Regions from separate parts of the Homo sapiens genome. Here all the other regions are linked to region 2. Evidence: promoter capture Hi-C in 16 types of primary human blood cells and fetal thymus (Javierre and others, 2016). All regions are on one chromosome and are shown on one strand. Each heading gives the region's core, a stretch centred on a gene start or on the middle of the fragment in contact. The rest is flanking DNA. Distances are from core to core; before and after follow the strand shown. Region 1 overlaps LINC03036 (long intergenic non-protein coding RNA 3036). Region 2 holds the start of PRLHR (prolactin releasing hormone receptor). Region 3 overlaps CACUL1 (CDK2 associated cullin domain 1).

What was found. The method cuts DNA at HindIII sites, captures the fragments that hold promoters and counts their contacts. A CHiCAGO score of 5 or more calls a contact.
Region 1: a fragment that was not itself captured here is called in contact with the fragment with the promoter of PRLHR in region 2 in 1 of 17 cell types (M1 macrophages); the score reaches 5.2 in M1 macrophages.
Region 3: a fragment that was not itself captured here is called in contact with the fragment with the promoter of PRLHR in region 2 in 1 of 17 cell types (naive CD4 T cells); the score reaches 5.4 in naive CD4 T cells.

What each region holds. Positions count from the first base shown.
Region 1 is chr10:118,836,800-118,840,646 of GRCh38, forward strand. All of the region lies in intron 3 of LINC03036 (long intergenic non-protein coding RNA 3036), which reads right to left. Among named protein-coding and RNA genes, the nearest start is that of CACUL1, 84 kb to the left of the region's middle. The HindIII fragment of the contact is 161 bases long and covers 1,766-1,926 here.
Region 2 is chr10:118,594,365-118,598,027 of GRCh38, forward strand. PRLHR (prolactin releasing hormone receptor) reads right to left here and starts at 1,284. Exons shown (of 2, transcript NM_004248.3): 1 at 1,152-1,284; 2 at 1-886. The coding sequence starts at 880. RefSeq lists enhancers at 243-1,051, 1,052-1,860, 1,861-2,669. The HindIII fragment of the contact is 5,195 bases long and covers 1-2,481 here.
Region 3 is chr10:118,732,019-118,735,863 of GRCh38, forward strand. All of the region lies in intron 1 of CACUL1 (CDK2 associated cullin domain 1), which reads right to left. Among named protein-coding and RNA genes, the nearest start is that of CACUL1, 21 kb to the right of the region's middle. The HindIII fragment of the contact is 1,503 bases long and covers 1,685-3,187 here.

The DNA of each region.
Region 1 (3,847 bases), core at 596-3,095, 240 kb after region 2:
CAGAAAAGTCTGGCCTCAGTAGTGGGGAATAATTAATGCCAGCCTGAGCCCTGCCTACCAAATCGTAAAAGCAAAACCCAAAGGGGTCAAACTGTAAAGGTCAAGAATTTGAAGATATCCAACACCCAACAAGGTAAAGTTCACACCATCTGACATCCAATCAAAAATTACAAGGCATGCAAAGAAGAGGAAAAATAGAACCCTAATGAGAAAAATCAAGCAATCAAAACCCAGAAATGACACAGATGTCAGAAATAGCACACAAGGACATTAAAACAATTATAATTGTATTCCATATGTTCAAAAAGTTACATATGGAATATATTTTTTAAATGACCAAAATTAAACTTCTAGAGATTAAAACTACAACATCTCAGAACAAAAGCAACACTGGATGTGATTAGTAGATTAGACATTGCAGAAGATTAATGAATTTGAAAACACAGCAATAGAAATTATCCAAAATGAAATAGGTTTTTTAAAAAGGGATTTTAAAAACTTTAAGAGCATCAGTGATCTCTGGAACAACTTCAAGCAACCTATAGCAATAATACACATATAATTGGAATCCCAGAAGAAAGTAAAGGCTATGAACAGGAAAATATTTGTTTGATTCAGCAGATATAGGGCAGGGCCCAAGAACTTAAGTTTCCAGGTGATGCTGAAAAACTGCTCCAAGGTAGGAGTTGACAAACTACAGCTTATGGGCCAAATCCAACTCGCCACCTGTTTTTGTAAAGTTTTATTGGAACGCAATCACTGTGTTAGTCCATTCTTGCATTGCTATAAAGAAATACCTGCGACTGGGTAATTTATAAACAAAAGAGGTTTAATGTGCTCACGGTTGTGCAGGCAATACAGGAAGTATGGCTGGGAGGCCTCAGGAAACTTACAATCATGGCAGAAGATGAAGGGGAAGCAGGCACAACCTACATGGCTGGAGCAGGAGGAAGAAAGAGAGAAGGGGGAGGTGCTACACACTTTTAAACAACCAGATCTCATGATAACTCACTATCATGAGAATGGTACCAAAGGGGAAATCCAACCCCATGATCCAATCATCTCCCACCAGGCTCCACCTCCAACACTGGAAATTACAATTTGACATGAGATTTGAGCAGGGACACAGATCCAAACCGTATTGGTTACATTGCTTTACATGTTCTTTTTTTTTTTTTTTTTTTTTTGAGATGGCGTCTCACTCTGTTGCCCAGGCTGAAGTACAGTGGCATGATCTCAGCTCACTGCAACCTCTGCCTCCTAGGTTCAAGCGATTCTCATGCCTCAGCCTCCCGAGTAGCTGGGATTACAGGCACCCGCCACAACGCCTGGCTAATTTTTGTATTTTTAGTAGAGATGGGGTTTTACCATGTTGACCAGGCTGGTCTTGAACTCCTGACCTCAAGTAATGTGCCTGCCTCAGCCTCCCAAAGTGCTGGGATTACAGGCGTGAGCCACTGTGCCTGGCCAATTTACATGTTCTCCATAGCTATGGTGCTACAACAGCAGAGTTGAGTTGTTTCAACAGAGACCATGTGGCCTATAAAGCCTAAAATATTTCCTATCTGATCCTTTACAAAAAAGGTTTGTTGATCCCTGCTTTAGGGGATATACAGGAAGAAGTGTGATCCCTGCCTTCATGGAGTTAGCCTTGTAGGGAAGACAAGTAATGACACACACATACAAACACAAGTAAGAATTACATTTGTGTTACGTGCTGTGAATAAGTACCAGTAAAACCAGTACAATCAGGGAGGCTGAGCAAAGCTTCCTTGAGGAAATGATATTGATGCTGAGGCTTGAAAGAGGAACGGAATTGACCAGGCGAACCTTGCAGGAAGAGCTGACCAAGCACCAGAGTTATGTGTGTGAAGGTCCCTTTCTTAGTCAACTCAGGCTGCTATAACAAATTACCATAGACTCGGAAGCTTATAAACAACAAATTTATTTCTCACAGTTCTGGAAGCTGGAAGTTGGAGATCAGGATGCCAGCATAGTTGGGTTTTGGTGAGCGCCCTCTTCTTGGTTATAGAATTCCAACTTTTCATTCTCCCACGGTGAAAAGAGGGTGAGCTAGCTCTCTGGTTTTTTCTTATAAAGCCACTAATACTAATCCCACCCATAAGGGATCTATCTACCCTCATCACCTGATTACCACCCAAAGGCTCCTTCTCCAAATACCATCACATTGGGGATTGAGTCTCAATGTATGAATCTGAGGGGGACAAACGTTCAGTGCATAACAGCCCCCAAAGCTGGAAGGAGATCAGCAGGGTGAGCAAGGGGTAGGGGTGGATAGCACGAAGCCTGGGGAGGAGGAAGGGATGGGGCCAGGCCCTCCCACCAGGTGAGGAGGTAGGTCTGTATCCTAAGAGGACCGGGTTAGCCACTAAAATCCTTAAGCATAGACTACATAATTACACTGGCATTTTGAGGCAATTGGTTTGTTGATTGTGTAGACAGTGTGGAGAGTAGATTGGACAAGGACAGAGTGGAAATGGGTGGACGAGTTTGGAAGTCCCTCCAGGTGAGAAGTGATGGTGACTCAGACTTAGGAGGGCAGGGGAGAGAGAAAACTGGACCATTTCCAAATGCAGGCTTAGATTAGGTTCCGTGTGGACTCAGGGGGGACCTGGGAGAAGAGGGGCTCTGGGGGTGGGGCAGAGGTCATGGCCAGGAGGAAAGGAGTCTTTACAGGTCACTTCCCTAATTTGCCATGCCTCCTGCCTGTCCATCACAACCAGCTGATCCACCCTGTGCCAGCGAGCAGAGGCTCAGTCCCTGGGTCAGGCCCAGCTGGGGTGACCAACCATCCCATCTGCCCAGGATTGAGGGGTGTTCTGAGAGCCTTCAGCTAAATTGGGGTTCCAGTACCAGCACAGCTGGCAACCCTGCCCTAATGAGAAATGAAGAGGAGGTGAACATGTTGTTTACAGGACGCCTTTCACACGATCCTTCTACTTGTCGGATGGCCTAATGTCTGGTTATCCAACCTTCAAATGGAGGGTGCCTGGCATAGGAAATGTGTTTATGCTGGTAGACGATCTTGTGTCTTGTCTGACCTGTGTCCAGTTTGTGTCTACCTGACCGTCACTCTGGCCCTCCTGGAAGCCCAACCTTGTGTTTCTCACCACTCCCATGTCCCAGGGAAAACCCAGTGGGGTAGCCCCCAGTTCTTCAGATGGAAGGCGCAAGTTCGATACACGACCATGACAGGAAGTCAGTTCAAATATTTTTACTTACAGATCCGGGGCAGGGAAGGCACCATGGGTAAGGAGGGCAGTCCACTGTCCGTGGGTCATGGAATGCAGGAACAAAGAGTCAAGCAGAGGGAAAGAGACAGAGAGATACAGAGACAGAGAGAGACAGAGAGGCAAAGAGTAGTATATAAGGGAATAGGAAGTGAGTCACCTTAAGTTCATGGGCAGCTGTCTGAATGGCCCGTTTAAAGGAAGCAGCAGGAAGGCGGGGGCGGGGGAGCCCATCTGGTGGGCGGGAGAGAGGCCTCTAAGTTCTCACCTGGAGCCGCGGCTTGAGTCATTTGGGTGTGGAGCTGGAAACTGTCTCAAGAGTCTCAAGAGTAACTGAGCCCTGCTTCTGGTAGGAGAAAGTTAAATGTGTATCCAAGATGGATGCTGAGGCAACATAAAATTATAAGAATTCACTGCAAAGGTTTCCCAGGGCACAGGACTTTCAGTGTTGGTCAACCGAGGCCCATGTCCATGTCTCTTTATTGAGAGGAAGGTCAACAGCCTTGGTGGGTAGCTTGGGAAGGGTAAGGCTACATGGCCAGAGGGTGGGCTGAGTGCACATTGCCTTGGTTCCGGGCCAGTTTGAACTCATTTCT
Region 2 (3,663 bases), core at 34-2,533:
GCGGCAGCCAGCAGACGGCGAACACCACCACGATCACCACCAGCAAGCAGAAGGTGCGCCGGCGCCGAGCGCGGTCCCAGTCGGCCTGGCTCTGGGTCACGCAGCCCGGCACCACGCGGTTGCGGAGCTTCACTGACACCCGGACGTAAGACAGGAGGATGACCAGCAGAGGGAGCAGGTAGGTGACCAGCAGCAGCCCCCAGGCGTAGAGCTGGCGCTGGCGCTCCTGGGAGCCCCAGAACTCCTCGCAGAGGCGCACGTCGTGCGGCTTGAGCTCCACGTGATAGGTGTGCACGGCGGCGGGCAGCGCCAGCACCGCGGACAGCGCCCAGATGGCCAGCACAGCGTAGGCGCTGAGGCGCAGCGAGATGCGCCGCCTCAGCGGGTGCACCAGCACGACGTAGCGGTCCACTGCGATGGTGGTGAGCGTGAACACCGACACATAGACGGTGACCGGCTGCAGGAAGAAGACCAGGTGGCACAGGCCGCCGCCGAACACCCAGCCGCGTGGCTCGAAGGCATAGGCCAGCGTGAGCGGCACGCAGGCGGTGCACATGAGCACGTCGGACAAGGCCAGGTTGCCGATGAGGAAGTTCGTCACGTTGTGCAGCCGGCGCACCCGCGCGATCACCAGCACCAGCAGGCAGTTGCCCACCAGCCCCACGACCACCACGACGCTGTAGAGCAGCACGATCAGCCCCTTCAGCTGATGCACCAGCTGCAGGCTCTGGAAGGGCGTGACGGCTGGAGCGTCCGCGCCAGCCACCGACCCGTTGCCCGCCGAGGCCTCTGCGCTCTGGTTGGCGGGAGTTGTGACCGCCGGCGGCAGCCCAGAAAATAAGTCAGAAACCCTGGGGCCCCGAGTGGTCGATGAGGCCATGGCCACCTGTTCAAAGGTAATCAAAGTCCGTCACTTCCCTTGCCATACTCCATCCGACCTCCTACACCAGCCGCGCCCCTCCCCCATCGCCTGAGTCCTCCCTTGGGAATAACCGGCCACAGAACAACAGCAAAAGTAGCAAAAAGTGTTGTCCTCTCACCTCTGTAAAATAAACCTAAGCACGGTTAGAACATACGGTTTATTTAAACGCTTCCGCCTCTATTTACGGTCCTCGCAGTCCACGCAGGCAGACTCAGGAGCGCGATCCTACCTGGGAGTGGGGTTTGGAGAGCGGGAAAGCACTCGCGGGAAGAAGGGGCAGAATTTCTGCTGGCCCTCGGTAGTCCTCTGCCCACGTCGGTGATCCGGTCTCGCTTCTCCGCGGGAGCTGAACGGATCCAAATGTTTCCCAGTGGGCTAGCAGCTTCTTAGAGGGACTGGGAGCGCCTCCCCTCAGCTCCGCCCCCCACTCCAGCTCCCATGTATGGAAAATAGGGGTGGAGCGCGCTCTGCCATGCTCGGTGCTTAGAGAACTAGTGAAGAGGACAGTGTGGGGAGGATGGAATCCGAAACGGGAGGAGGGGCCGGCAAACCTGGCCAGAGCAGCGAAGAGGACGAATCTCTACTGCAGGAGCTTGCACGGCCCCTGGAGGGTCAGGGTCCGGAGGAGCGCACAGTGGAGGAGGGCGGAGGAGAGGCGCGAAGCGTCAGGCTATCGGGAGGAGCCGGTGCAGTCTTAGGAGGGAAGGAGCGGGGAAGGAAGTAGCGGTGGGAGATTGCAATGCAGCTGGGGGCTTGAGAGAGGCACGACTGACCCGTTCTTAAAGGCTGGATCCTGCCTAGCGGCCAGGTTGCGGAGGGCAGAGACGCTAGAGGGCTCGGGCTGGGATTTAACAGCAGAGCCTGGAGCTGGTCGCGGACCTGAGGACCCTCACCCTCCCGTGGCCCCGCCACACGAGCCCCCTGCTTGGCTGCAGCGCGCTCAGCGGGCAGCGGGTCCGGCCAAGCCAAAGGCAGGAGTCAGCACCACGGACAGCTTCCGCTGGATCTGCCGCCCCTCGGGCGGATGATGTGGGGAGGAGCAGGGGAAAATGACTAGGGAATTCCTGCCCCTCTCTGGATCCGGGTGTTTGGGGAAGGAACCTGGTCCGGTTCAAAGACCTGCCTCGCTGCCTGCTTTCTGGGCTGGGGCTGAGAAGAGTAGGGTGGAGTGGAGGCAGCTGAGCCGGGGGCCTGGGGGTCGGAGACTCATGACTTTTGCTCCTCTTGGTGGTCACCGCACTCAGTGCCAAGGACGGCGTCGTCTTTTACCTCCCGGGGTCAGAAAATGCAGCTCTCCTGCCAGTTATTCTACACAGGCACACTTCAGTCTGGCCCAGCGACTCCCCGGCTCACCCTTTCTCTCGCTTTCTTTCTCGGCTACCGCGACCTGTGCCGTATCTGGCTGCTTCTCCCAGCACAGAGTAGTTCCTGGACTGAGACTTGACCCCTCCCTCCTTGACTGAACACCCACAGGCCTCTTCTCTTCATTTTAGGATTTTTTAAAAATACTGGTAATTGCAGATTTCAGCTAGGGTAACAAAAGTAACAAACATTTGAGAAGCTTAGGCGTTTCATAAAATCTTCAGTAGTATTAAGTCCTCATTGAAATGCAAATTAGCCTGGCCCACGGGGCAAGAGCCAGGGGAGGAGGGGCCTTTGTAAGCTCCCTCCTTAGAAGCTATCTCATTCCCTCAGCCTCTTGTTTCCTTTTTCCAGAGCATGGAGCTTCATTGTCTCCTCTCTGATAAGTCCTTGTACTTTGTCCTCTGGCTGCAGATATTCCAGTTAGACTGGAAACTAATATCAATTTATTCCACCCTCCAAATTTAAATGAATCACTCATATAGAAAAAAGTCAATATTGGAACAAAAGTAATCAATGTTATGCACCTCTGTCCATCCTAAGCTCACGGTCCCTGAGTTATAATCAATTTAGCTAAAACCAGTGTGTGTGTATATATACATGTATATGTTAGGACAAGATCTCACTCTGTCACCCAGGCTGGAGTGCAGTGGCACAATCATGGCTCACTGCAGCCTCAACCTCCCAGGCCAAAGCCATCCTCCCACCTCTCAGCCTCTCAAGTAGCTGGAACTACGGGTGCACACCACCATGCCTGACTAATTTTTGTTTATTTGTTTCTTTTGAGGCGGAGTCTTGCTCTGTCGCCAGGCTGGAGTGCAGTGGTGTGATCTCAGCTCACTGCAACCTCTGCCTCCCAGGTTCAAGCGATTCTCCTGCCTCAGCCTCCCGAGTAGCTGTGACTACAGGCACGTGCCACCATGCCCAGATGATTTTGTATTTTTAGTAGAGACGGGGTTTCACCATGTTGGCCAGGATGGTCTTGATCTCTTGACCTCGTGATCCGCCCACCTCGGCCTCCCAAAGTGCTGGAATTACACACGTAAGCCACTGCGCCTGGCCTAATTTTTTGTAGAGGTGAGGTTTTGCCATGTTGCCCAGGCTGACTGAACTCCTAGGCTCAAGCAATCCTCCCGCTTCAGACTCCCAAAGTTCTGGGATTACAAGCATGAGCTACTGCACCCAGTCTCAGTATTATATATACTTTTTTAATTGCAGAGCTCTAAATAGGATACAATCAGTGCCTGCCTAATACCTTGCCCAGTAATTTTTCTCATCATTTTCACCTGCAGGGTTTTATGCACCCAAGAGCAGGGGCACTCTTTTGTTTCAAAATCTCTTAAGCAGAGGAAATTGCGATAAAGTCAGTGAAAAAGGAT
Region 3 (3,845 bases), core at 1,186-3,685, 140 kb after region 2:
AGGCCAGACATGTAGGTCCTTATGGGCCATTGTAAAGACTTTGACTTTTACTCTAAGGTGGAAGCCTCTCTGGAGGGTTTTGAGCAGAGGAGTGACATGATCTGGCTTAGGTTTTATATGGATCATTCCAGCAGCTGTGCTGAGGGTAAACTAAGTTTGGAGGCTGTGAGCTGATATGGGGTTGGGCCAGATGGTGGCACTGAGGACAATAAGGAGAGATCAGATTTTGAAGATATTTTAAAAACAGAGTCAACAAGATTTGCTGATAGATTAGATGTGAGATGTGAAAGAAAGGTCGAGTGGCTCCAAAGTTTTTGGCTTCAGCACCGAAGGATGGGGTTGTCGTTTACTAAAATGAGGAAGACTGCACGAAAAGCTTAGCTGTCCAGCGGGCATAGCAGATACTGTTGGTGCCCCACCCATTTACCCCATCCACACCCTACGACTACTTCTCTCAATGTTCTGTCCAGCTGCCAGAGCTTGCTCTGCTTGCGGGAGGAGCAGGTAAGAAATTGTGGGAGAATTAACCCCAAAGCAGCCTTCAACCAATGACTACTGAGGATTCAGTGTCATTACCACCAGTAGCTCCCTCTCCTTTTGGGTGAGGCGACTCTAAGGCCCCTGTGCTATACTGACTCCCAGAGCTCCCCACTGGTACTAAGCTCCAGCTGCCTACAGTGGTGACTTTACCTTACTGGCTTCCTTACCTTCCCTGCCTCACTTCCCCAATCCCCCTAGAGCTGCTTCCCAGGGTCACCGTCTTGCTCTTGATACTGAAAAGTGTTACACACTAGGCTCTAGAATATGACCTTTGTATTTATGTAATCCTTAGGATTCAAAGAAAACTGAAAAAGAAATTACATTCTCACTGTGTGATTCTGAGTTACAGAATCCCTTATCAGTGTACCACCTAAACCACATGAAATACCTCTCTACACCGAAAGTTGAGAGTTGAAGGTTAGATAACACGCTCAAAAAGAAAACTGCAAGTAGTAACACCAGTAATTAACATACCTATCTTCTGGGCTCCTAAAATGCTTAGTTCAATAAACCACATGCTATGGCTCCAGCTGGGAGCACTCCTACTTCTCAAGCACAGGCTTCGCACTTTAGCAAATCACCAAGTCAAAGATATGAAGAAGAGGAAAAAGAAACCAAAATGTAAAGTCCTGCAGTTCTAAGTACAGAATGGGGACTCACTACAGAAACAGTGACTGCTGATGCTTTTAAATATCTTTGAAAAGAGACTTAAAAACCAAATTGAAAAAGGCATGTGTCACAGTAGAGAATCTTAAACCCTATTTCCACACACAAAAAAAAAAGCAGTTTCTATTTCCACACGTATTATTTATTATATACAATATACATCTATGTTACCTGAATAGTAAATAGAAAGCCAATTCAGTAACCTTATATGCTAGCTAACATAACTTTCTTCCCAGGAAGGTTCTTCATAACCATCTGCAGTCAACACTTAAAATGACAATCCAGGAAACTTCAAGATATTTGTTATTTACTTGCTTATCTCAACGCAATCCTTGGTTTAAAAAACAAAAACTCCTAGCTATTTGTTCAGTTTAACATCTGACACATATAGCCTCAGAGTGTGTGTGTAATCTTGAACTTAAAAACTAGATCCTCTTGTTAAGAGATATGTAATCACTTTCAACTTTGCCCATAGAAAAGCTTACACTCACCAAAAGAAAAAGTAGGCCAGGCGCACTGGCTCATGCCTGTAATCCCAGCACTTTGGGAGACCGAGGCGAGAGCACCGCCTGAGCCCAGAAGTTCAAGACTACACTGGGAAACATGGTAAGACCTTACCTCTACAAAAACTTAAAAAAAAAAATTAGCCGAGCGTGGTGATGCACACCTGTGGTCTCAGCTACTCGGGAGGCTGAGGCAGGAGGATCTTTCAAGCCCAAAGGTCAAGGTTGCAGTGAGCCATGTTCATAACCCTGTACTCCAGTCTGGACAACAAAGCAAGACTGTCTCAAAAACAAAACAAAACACAAAAGAGTAGCCAAAATTCATGCTATGTGTAGAAGATAGCTGATTTACTACTTTAAAATGAGAATGCTAAGATCAGAGCAGCATGACAGGATCTTAGGAGATCTGCAAGGCTGCCTATTTAGACAATACTTTTCAACTTTTTATTTCTTGATTTCTACAGTTCAGTATGAAGCCTGCATTAGAAAATACATAAGCAAAAGGAGGAAATAAAAATCACTCATAATTTCACCACCAGTATATTGCGGCTGTGCCAGTGTACTGTGCCAGTCTTTTCAATGTATATTATACGTGGCTAAAGAGTATATACAGACTTCCAATGAGGTAAAGAATTCCTTGAATTTTACTTTTTAGATAATTAACTAAATTCCTTTTCTGTATGTAATGAGCAATATCAGCAAGTAAGAGCCAAAATTAAAGTATGAAACCTAAACAAAAGTAAGTTACCATTAAATTACTAAACTTCATCTAGGTTAGATTTTCAGCTTGAAAATAATGAACTACTTTTTATGCTATTTAAAGAAGGCACTACAGGCACAAATACCTACAGGAGCCACGCTAATAACATACATAAGTAAAGCAGGCCTGGTGCAAGAATAAGAAAAGTGGTGAGGGCTTTATTGAACAGCAGAATGTGTGTTGCCCTCTAGAGGCACAGAGGTTCAAGAAATTTTAAAACACTTACTAAAAAAATGTAAAAACATCATGCCGCAAGGCTTAAACCTAGAAACACATATTTTTAAGATAATAAGCTCACACAGTCTAAATCCCACTGAGAAAGTAGTTTAACTGACCTTTACTAAGATAAAATGAAACAAAGTCTGAAACACATGGAATAGCTGGAATCTTCATTCAGGAAATATTATCAGGTTGCTGATAAACAGGAAACCATTAGAGGTCTATAATTCATACCAGGCAAGAATAAATATGTTCAACTCTCACACTTTTTTAATCCAAATAACTTGACATATTATTTGTTTATTGTCAATCTCCCTCAAACTAGACGTTAAGCCCCATGGAGAAGGAATTCACTGCTAGAGCCCCAACTCTAAACAGTATATGACACATGGTAGGTACCCAGTAACATCTGTAAAGCGAATTAACTTCGTGAGTCAAAATAAATGCTGAACAGAAAAACAGTGAAAGATATACTACTTATTAGCTGTTTTGCAATTAAAGCTTAAATTACATTTGATTTCACATAGGCTAAAGCAAACCAGGTTAGCCCTACTATATAATCCTTTTAAGGGTTTTTTTGTTTATAAGGGAAGAATAAATTCAGGAATTATAGTAAGCATTATGAATTCATACTTGGTCTACTGCAGAGACTGATCATTACTTTCTATCAGTGCCTCAAAAGTGTGAGATCCAGAGCAGCAGCAGCAGCATCACCTGGAAACTTGTTGCAAATGCAAACTGTCAGGCCCCAACACAGACCTGCTGAATCAGAAATTCTAGGGGTGGGTGGAACCCAGGAAGCTGTTTAACAAGCCCTCCAGATAATTCTTACGCCTGTTAAAGTTTGAAAACCACTCTAATGCTTCAGCAGCCCTGGACAGCCAGGGTTCACTTAGGTGTTCCTCTTTCCTCAATTGCTAATATATGGCTTGTCTGTTCTCAACACCTTGGAGAGTCAAATAAAGGTGTGAATATATCAAACAAAATGTTAAAAAGGTAGCTAGGAACTGTCTTCCTACCAAAGATTCACTAAAATTCTTCTCTTCCATATCCCTTCTTCCCACCAAAAAAGCCACCTTCATTTAGAATAGACTCTTTAAGAATGTAGTAATGGCAATTATAAAATAAATAATTAAGCCAAATTTAAAAGGCTAAAT